Linked DNA regions of Homo sapiens: all the other regions are linked to region 3. Evidence: promoter capture Hi-C in human tissues and cell types (Jung and others, 2019). All regions are on one chromosome and are shown on one strand. Each heading gives the region's core, a stretch centred on a gene start or on the middle of the fragment in contact. The rest is flanking DNA. Distances are from core to core; before and after follow the strand shown. Region 1 overlaps SPINK8 (serine peptidase inhibitor Kazal type 8 (putative)). Region 2 holds the start of PLXNB1 (plexin B1). Region 3 holds the start of FBXW12 (F-box and WD repeat domain containing 12).

Region 1 (2,913 bases), core at 71-2,570, 53 kb before region 3:
CCAGGATGGTCTCTATCTCCTGACCTCCTGATCTGCCCGTCTCAAAAGAACTTTGCTCTGTTGCCCAGGCTAGAGTGCAGTGGCACGATCATGGCTCACTGCAGCCTTGAACTCCTGGGCTCAAGCAATCATCCTGACTTCCAAGTAGCTAGGACTACAGGCAGGTGCCACCATGCCTGGCTAATTTTTTAATTTTTTTTTGTAGAGTCAGGGTCTCGCTATGTTGCTCATGTCTCAAATCCCTAGGCTCAAGCAATCCTTCTGCCTCAGCTTCCCAAAGTGTTGGGATTACAGGCTTGAGCCACCCCTCCAGGCAAAAATATTTTTTAAAATTTTTGTAATTAAGTTGGTATTAATCCAAATTAGATTGGTATAAATTAGAATTTAACTTGTAATATCCAGTGCAACTGCTAAGAGAATAATTTCTTTTTTTTTGAGACGGAGTCTTGCTTTATCTCCCAGGCTGGAGTGCAGTGATGCAATCTCAGCTCACTGCAACCTCCGCCTCCTGGGTTCGAGGGATTCTTCTGCCTCATCCTCCTGAGTAGCTGGGATTACAGGCATGCACCACCACACCCGGCTAATTTTTGTATTTTTAGTAGAGACGGGATTTCATCATATTGGCCAGGCTGGTCTCGAACTCCTGACCTCAGGTGATCCGCCCACCTCGGCCTCCCAAAGTGCTGGGATTACAGGCGTGAGCCACTGCGCCCAGCTAGAATAATTTCTAAGATACACTGAAAGGGAGCTCTTTAGAGGCCATCTCTCAGATGTCTCCTGGTTCCAGCATCGTTTGACTCTGTCATGCTGCGCATTCCCCAGATGATGCTTTCTGATTGTCAGGTGTCAGCGTCTGTGCCAGTGATTGAGGCTGACACCAAAGTTGTTTACCTTACAACTCTCGTATGGGTTCTAGTGTAAGCTTTAGTGTTTATTCAGCCAAGAATACAAGAAAGTCCGATCCTGCCCAGCCAAATATCTCTCATCCTGATCAAGAAGATTCTTATTCCTTCTCTGGAGGAGAAGCTAAGAAGAGGAAGGGGAGAGAGACTTAATTCTGATCTACTCTTGTGTTTTTGCTTTTCTCTCTTAAGATAGCACTCAACTTGTAAGCCTTAGTTAGACAAGGGTGTGGCTTTTCTCCTTAAAGGAGAAGGCAGATGTCAGAGAATCCTCCTAACTGTATACGGAGTTTCCTTCATACAAACCCCTGCTCCTCACTATTCCCCTTGGGCTAAACAATTGGGCGTTTCACTTGTGTGTTACTCAAAGCTTCTAACATGTGATGGGTGCAGAGACTAAACCACATACTAAGTTGAAAGCAAAAGAAAGTTGTTTTGGAAAATAATATCCATTTTAGGACCAATAAACTATTAGCTGGGAAGATTCTTCACCCAGCTTCCTCTTCCTCTTCTTTTTGTTCTTTGTTTCTGTTCTTTGGCCTGAGGGGGCATGAGGATGACCTTCATGTAGGGTCACATGATCTACATGCTATGGCTGCTTGTTTCTGAGTGCCTCCACTTGAGGCTTGTCCAGGTCACACACAGTGCCCTCACCTTAGTGGATTTCTGTTTCTGCATTGTCTGAATAGGATCACATGTACCTTTTGAGGTCACAGAAAGGAATGGAAGAAAGGGAGGAACAAATACTGGAGGAATGTCTGGAGAGAAGGTCTCATTGGATGATGTAGGAAGTGGGCTGAGGTCATCACCCTCTTTTGACCACTCTTAACCTCTTGACTTGAAAGAAAGGGAGAACAAAATTAGGACTTACAGAATTTTGGAGCACAGATGGCAGTCACTACTGTAGGTAACCTGGTCACTGCCACAAATAGGTTCACTGGGCTTGATGTAGGATAAAAACCAGCACTTATTTACATTCTTGAGGCATTCAACCTGAAGGTGAGACACACACAACTGCTTCAGACACTTTCATCCAGGTCCTTTGGCCGTTATTATGTATAGCTTGGGAGGTGGATGGAATACGAGCACCAGATCAGGAGTTCAGAGAAAAGGATTCAGAAGCCTCAGTGTTTGACCCCAACAGTTACCACCCACAATATGTATATAATTGCAAAATAATATATAATCTGTGCACTCTCCAGACTCCCATAAATTCTTTATTAAGATAAAAATACCGGCCGGGCGCGGTGGCTCATGCCTGTAATCCCAGCACTTTGGGAGTCCGAGGTGGGTGGATCACGAGGTCAGGAGATCGAGACCACGGTAAACCCCATCTCTACTAAAAATACAAAAAATTAGCCGGGCGTGGTGGTGGGCGCCTGTAGTCCCAGCTGCTGGGGAGGCTGAGGCAGGAGAATGATGTGAACCTGGGAGGCGGAGCTTGCAGTGAGCCGAGATCGCGCCACTGCACTCCAGCCTGGGCGACAGAGCAAGACTCCGTCTCCAAAAAAAAAAAAAGATAAAAATCCCTGCCCTCTGTAACCTAACAATCATATTTTTGTACCAACCCCAAAATGTGATTGGTAGGTTACAGAGAGCAGAAGTAGGGAAATGTCTTTCCAGGTTAAAATTTCTGATGAAGGGCCAGGCATGGCGGCTCACGCCTGCACTCCCAGCACTTTGGGAGGCCGAGGTGGGCAGACCATAAGGTCAGGAGTTTGAGACCAGCCTGGCCAACATGGTGAAACCCCATCTCTACTAAAAATACAAAAATTAGCTGGGTGTGGTGGCACGTACCTGTAGTCCAAGCTACTCGGGAGGCTGAGGCAGAAGAATCACTTGAACCCAGGAGGCAGAGGTTGCAGTGAGCTGAGATCGCGCCACTGCACTCCAGCCTGGGCAACAGAGCAAGACTCCGTCTCAAAAAAAAAAAAAATTCTGATGAACATTATCATATGTGGTGCCTCAGATGGCAGGGGCTGAAACTTGTCACAGCAGGTTGAAGGCACCA
Region 2 (2,780 bases), core at 185-2,684, 58 kb after region 3:
GAGGTGAGTTATTCATTGACAGTGCAGTGGTGCCCGCTGCCCGCCCTGTTTTCTGTGTGTTGAGGAGGGGTGGGGAGATCCACCATTTACCAGGCACCTGCGATGACCCAAGGCGCTCATCGATCACCCACTTAATATGTCTGTGTGTGGAGAGGAGGGTCCCCCCCACCCGCCCGGGGGTCAGGAGGCTCGAGGTCCGCCTTTGTCAGTCCCACCGGGAGCAGCCAGAAAGGGCTGTTACTACTGAGGGGAAGCCCCGACCTCCCCACTCGGCTCGTCCTTGACCCTCCCCAACCCCCAGACCCCGAGGCGAGGACCCCATCACTGGCCCTGGGAGGGCGGGGAAGGGGCCGGCCGGTCCCCGGCGGCGACGGCGAGGAGGGGGCGCGGAGGAGCAGCTCCACCTCCTCAGTCTCCCAATCGCGTTCCAGGCGGAGTCGCCAGAGTTTCCCTTCGCGCGGAGAAGTGTGGTCCCAACTCTCAAAACCAAAGCCGCCCACCACTCACCCAGGCCGCCCCTGCCCGGCGGGATCGGGGCCCCGGCCCGTTCCACCTCGGGAGCCCCGTTCCTCGCCGCCCTGGCCCCGAGCCCCGCACTCACCACCCGGCCGGGCCCCGCGGGATGTGCGCGCCGAGGCGGGCGTCGGCCGCTCCGGGCTCGGGCTCCGCGCGCAGCGGCCTCTCCCCGGGTCTGGCGGAGCCGCAGCTGTTACCCGGAGACCGAGGGGCGGAAAACTGCGCCCGCTGCCCGCCCCTCCCGCGCGGCGCTGCCACCGCCGGGAACAAAGGAGACAAAGCCGCGTCGGCCGGGCTCGTCTCCGCTCCTTCCCCCTCGCCTGCCGGGCTGCCCTCCCCCCGCCCGCCGCCCGGGCCAGGCCGGAAGCAGCCCGGAGAGCCGGGCGCGCGGCCCCGAACCGCCCGGGACCCCGCATTCCAGCCCCGCGGGCTCCGCATCGGCCGAGGGCTGGGGACCCGACCCCTCCCGCACGGGGGAGGGCGGGGGCGGGCTGCACCGCGGCGGTCGCCATGGCAACGCGGGTCGCCCGGAGGGGTGAGGAGTGAACCCCGGGAGCCAGAGCCGCCCCGCCCCGTCGGCCTCACCTGCTCGCCTCCTTGGAACCGGAACTGGGAACTTTCCTGGTTGCCAGGAGCCGAGGCGGGGGGTCGCGCTCCGCACCCGCAGGTGCTGGTGGAACAGCGTCCCGGCCTCTTCCCGCCCGTCCAGAGCCGGGTAGCACCCGAGTCCCTCACCAGCCCGACCCGTTCTTCTGCCAGCGCCCGGCCTCGCCCCGCGCCCGGAGCTCCCTTTCCCTTCCTTACCCGGCTCCGGTGGTCATCCTCCCCAACTTTCTTTACCTGAACTCCAAGGCGCCTTGTTTCTCCCCTGCGCACCTGGCCCTGCCCACCGCCCCTGCTCACCGCCCCTGCTCCCACTACTCCCCAACAGCCAATCCCTCCTTCCGGCCCCCACCTCTGGCTGTTTGAGAAGAGCATGGGCTTTGGACCTGGGCTTGCGCCATCAACTAAACCATGTAACCTGACACCAACCCCCCCCAGCCTATTTGCTCACCAGTAAGTGGGGGTGATCCCACCTCTAGCGGGGCTGTGAAGGCAGGGAACCTGGGCTGCAGAGGCGCACAAGCAAGGGCTCACTTCCTTCCTTTCTTCCCAGCCCAGGACCCAGACCTGGACCCACCCCAAGCTGAGAAGCGTTGGGCAAGTCTGGGCTCCCTCACTGGCAAACACCTGGGCCTTCTGCGGGAGGAAACGCTGGCAGAAAGGTTCTCTCCTGGGGACCATTTGTACCCTGTGCAGGGCCCTTCACACCCTGGCATGCCCACGGCTAACTCAGGACCAGAACCTGGCCCATCCTATTAGGACTTTTGGAGGACTTTGGCTCAAAGCCATTGGCACAGCTTCCTGGGAGGCAAAAACGTCACAGGCATCATCTGAAAGCCTCCAAGGCCTCCACAGGCTAGGGGAGCCTCAATCAGGAGGTTCAGGTCATCCACACTGGCTACTGCCCTAGAGCTAGAGACACCCTCTTCCCACCTCCCACCAGCTATCAAGGGTCTCCTGTCAGGTCACCCCTTTTCCTCCACTCCCACTTCCAGCACCTGAGTCCAGGTGCTTAGCACCTTGTCTGCACCAGCATAGCAATCCCTCCCTGGATCCCTCACCCTTAGCCTCTGACCTCAGACTGCCAACCTGGCACCCCGGGCCTGTGACATCATTCTGCACAACTCCCCCACACCCATCACCACCCCAGCCAGGACAGTCTGCCCCAGTCCCTCACCCACTTTGGCTTTCCTGCCTATGTAGCTTGTAGCAGCCCCCTCCACATGCACAGAATCCCTCCCTCCCCAAATCCATTCATCCAAGCACACACTTCAGGACCTATCTCACCCCAGAGGAAACTGGGACTTCCAAACCCCACAACCCCTTTCATCTGTACACAGATACGCTACCTCCTGCCCTACAAGGAATGTGAACACTCTAAGCACAGGGGTCTTTCCATCCCATGCCATTCTGGGGAGCCATTACTCGCCAAGGATAGATTGACTGAGGGACCAGGTGCTGAGAACCTGGGGTGGGGGGCATTTGGGCCATGCTCACTGCCCAAGACTGAACACAGGCTCCAAGAAGAAAGTATGCCTTATGGGAAACACTCCTGACTCCACAGGCTCTGAGAGCTCTGCACAGGCACCAGTGAACGAGTCCCCACCTGCGGCCCCCCTGCATATAGCTACCCTGCGCTCTCAAAGGGGAGTGGGTTCTCT
Region 3 (2,971 bases), core at 472-2,971:
TGCTGTGTCGTCCCTCCCTCTCTGTCCTACTCTCAGGCTGCCCAACTCCTTATGGATCCCTCTTCTCAGGTTTCCCCAGCTGCCTGCTTTAATCTACTTTCTCCTAGACAATGTCCGGACCATTCTCTCACCTGCATCTTATCTTTTGCTTAGACTATTACGCAGTTACCATTTCACATCTCTCAAATTTTACATCTCTTAACTCTTGTGACATTTAGATTTGTCTTCATCTATTGTTGCAATGTGTCTTTCTCTGCCGCTTTTCTGGTAGCACCCCGCCACCACCACCCCCCAACACACCTTCCTGTTCCTCTATTTTTTTTGTTGTTGTTGTTGAGATGGAGTCTCGCACTGTCGCCCAGGCTGGAGTGCAGTAGCGCAATCTCAGCTCACTGCAACCTCCACCTCCCAGCTTCAAGCAATTCTCCTGCCTCAGCCTCCCAAGTAGCTGGGATTACAGGCACCCGCCACCACGCCCAGCTAATTTGTTGTATTTTTAGTAGAGACAGGGTTTCACTATGTTGGCCAAGCTGGTCTCAAACTCCTGACCTGGTGATCCACCCGCCTCGGCCTCCCCAAGTGCTGGGATTACGGGCATGAGCCACTGTGCCTGGCCTCTGTTCCTCTATTTCAAATTCATTCATTCACTCATTCGGCAATTTGCTTCAGTTTCCTTATGTTTGCCTCTTTCTCATCTGTCCTCTTTTCCATTTTATTCCTACTCTGTCTCAGTCCACTTACAGTTATATTTCCTATCTGTGTATTTTATAATATTTGTGCTTTAATACTTTTAAAATATCCTTTATTTTACTGTTTCTTCTCTTCCCTTGTCATATTTTAAAGTGTTTTATTTCTCAGCCTTCTATATCTTTGCATTAATTCTGTTCCTCTACAATAGAGTCCGTTCCAAGCTTTCTGTCTTCCTGTGTCCTTCCACGGCTCTGGCTCTCTCTGCATTATTTCCTATTTATGGAATACAAATCTTTTACCCTTGTATTTTTCTCACTCCTCTCCACACACCCCTTGACTCGCCTTTCCCCACGCCCCTCTAGGTGCTTCTTGGTCTTTGCTTTTCCTTTTTATTTCCTCACCATGTCAATTTGTATTTTTCCTCTCTCTTACTACTGTATCATAAATGGGACTCCCGACAACCACTCCCGTGTGTCTGCCTGGAGGCAGCAGTTTTAAGAAGGGTTGGCCACTGAGCCTCACAGAGGGACCCCTGTCTTATGCTGCAGCAAAGTACCATAGACTGGGTGGCTTACAAACAAATTTATTTCTCACAATTTTGGAGGAGAGAAGTCCAAGAGTCACCTGTCAGCACGGTCAGGTTCTGGTGTGGGCCTTCTTCCAGGTTGCAGCTGACACCTTCTCATGTCCTCGCATGATATGAACAGGGCTAGAGAGCGTTCTGGGGTCTCTTTTATAAGGTCACTGGTCCCATCATAAGGACTCTGCCTGTGACCCACTTACCTCCCAAAGGCCCCCCACCTCCAATCACACCAAGGGTTAGAATTTCAACGTAGGAATTTTGAGAGGACACAAACACCCAGGCTATGACACGGTCTTTAGAAAATCCCAGAATGAGTTGTCAGGTTCTTGGGAGATCTGTAACTGTGGGAAAGCGTCACATCCCAGGGAAAGCCACCAGCTGGGAGAGCCATCCCAGACAAGGCCTGCTCCCTTTGGGCGGACCTCTGTGGAGAAGCCAGCTTGGCACGTTCTTTCTCCTCCACTGCAAAGTTAAATGCGAGAAGGTAGAAACCCAGAGGCCATGCTGGCGCTGAGAGATGAGCCCCACTCACCAGATTCAAGATCCCAAGGTAGGCACAGACACAGGGCAAGCAGACTCCAATTCCAGGAGTTTGGAACTTAAATAGAGTCATAGAGACACTCAGATCTGATCAAAGTGAGTGCACTCGGTGACATTTCCTAAAGGGTTCTGACAACTTCATCTGCAACTGGGGCTGCCCCAGGTTCTGCACCTCCAGCTCACAGCGCACAGGTGTTGCTGAGCTCCTCTAAACAATGAACAGCACTAACAAGTGGGTTTAGGTAGGGATGCCTGCCAGCTGTGTGGATCAGGCCCCAGGGGAGAGGCCGGGGTGGAGGTCAGCCCGGGAGTCTGCACACCTGCAGCTTGTTTCTACCGCACACAGATGGGCATGGGTGAAAATCTTTACAAGTGCTGCAGACTTTGGCAAAGCCTATAAATTCAGAGCAGCCCGGAGAGGAGAAAGGAAAGTGGATGTGGGTTCAGGCCGCATGAAATGGAGATCCGATTGCCTGACTTAGCTTTGAAGCGAATCTTCTCTTTCCTGGACCTGTTCGGCTTGCTGCAGGTTTCCCAGGTGAACAAGGTAAAGGCCTTCCACCTCCCACTGCCCCCCAAGCCCGCTGCTTCTCTCGACCAGTTTGAGCACCACTTTGCAGAATAGCAGAGGGTTACACTGAGGCTTTGGGGGTTAGCATTCTTCATACTGAGGGCCTCATATTCTGTTAAACGAAAAGGACAAGCTGATATCCAGGAGTTGTGCTGACTAAACAGTCCTTGAGGCTCCCATTTCAAGCCCTAGGAAATCAACACTTCTTCCTGTGAATTCATGGGAATACCCAGTGCCTGTATTAGCAGTGATAGGTCTCTGTTGTTACCATTTCCTTATCTCCCCACACTGAGAGTGCTTTGAGAGCTGGAATCCCATCTGATTAACCTGTGCGGGCCCAGCTCCCAGAACAAATAATAGCAGAGGATTACCCTTGCTCTCTGATGTAACTGATTGCCTGCTTGTCTCTTCCTTTCTCTCCCATAGCATTGGAATAGGATTGCAGACAGTGATTACCTGTGGAGGTAAGGGAAGGGAAAGGGCAAGGAGGGAAGGGGAGAGGAGATCATCTGACTGCGCACCCATGCTGTGTCCCAAGGCCTGTGTGGCTGTGTTGTGAGATATACACAGGAAAGTTAGTGTGAGTA

What was found. The method cuts DNA at HindIII sites, captures the fragments that hold promoters and counts their contacts. A contact is called where the count stands out against the background at its distance.
Region 1: a contact is called between a fragment that was not itself captured here and the fragment with the promoter of FBXW12 in region 3, in 10 of the 25 tissues and cell types used here (IMR-90 fibroblasts, bladder, heart left ventricle and 7 more).
Region 2: a contact is called between the fragment with the promoter of PLXNB1 here and the fragment with the promoter of FBXW12 in region 3, in 1 of the 25 tissues and cell types used here (IMR-90 fibroblasts).

What each region holds. Positions count from the first base shown.
Region 1 is chr3:48,317,724-48,320,636 of GRCh38, forward strand. SPINK8 (serine peptidase inhibitor Kazal type 8 (putative)) reads right to left here. Exons shown (of 8, transcript NM_001080525.3): 6 at 1,774-1,895. Among named protein-coding and RNA genes, the nearest start is that of MIR2115, 2.7 kb to the left of the region's middle. The HindIII fragment of the contact is 4,808 bases long and covers 1-2,913 here.
Region 2 is chr3:48,428,652-48,431,431 of GRCh38, forward strand. PLXNB1 (plexin B1) reads right to left here and starts at 1,435. Exons shown (of 38, transcript NM_001130082.3): 1 at 1,357-1,435. RefSeq lists silencers at 389-468, 549-1,148 and an enhancer at 1,389-2,382. The HindIII fragment of the contact is 17,995 bases long and covers 1-2,780 here.
Region 3 is chr3:48,370,498-48,373,468 of GRCh38, forward strand. It overlaps FBXW12 (F-box and WD repeat domain containing 12), which reads left to right and starts at 1,722. Exons shown (of 11, transcript NM_207102.2): 1 at 1,722-1,823; 2 at 2,187-2,360; 3 at 2,811-2,848. The coding sequence starts at 2,271. The HindIII fragment of the contact is 16,322 bases long and covers 1-2,971 here.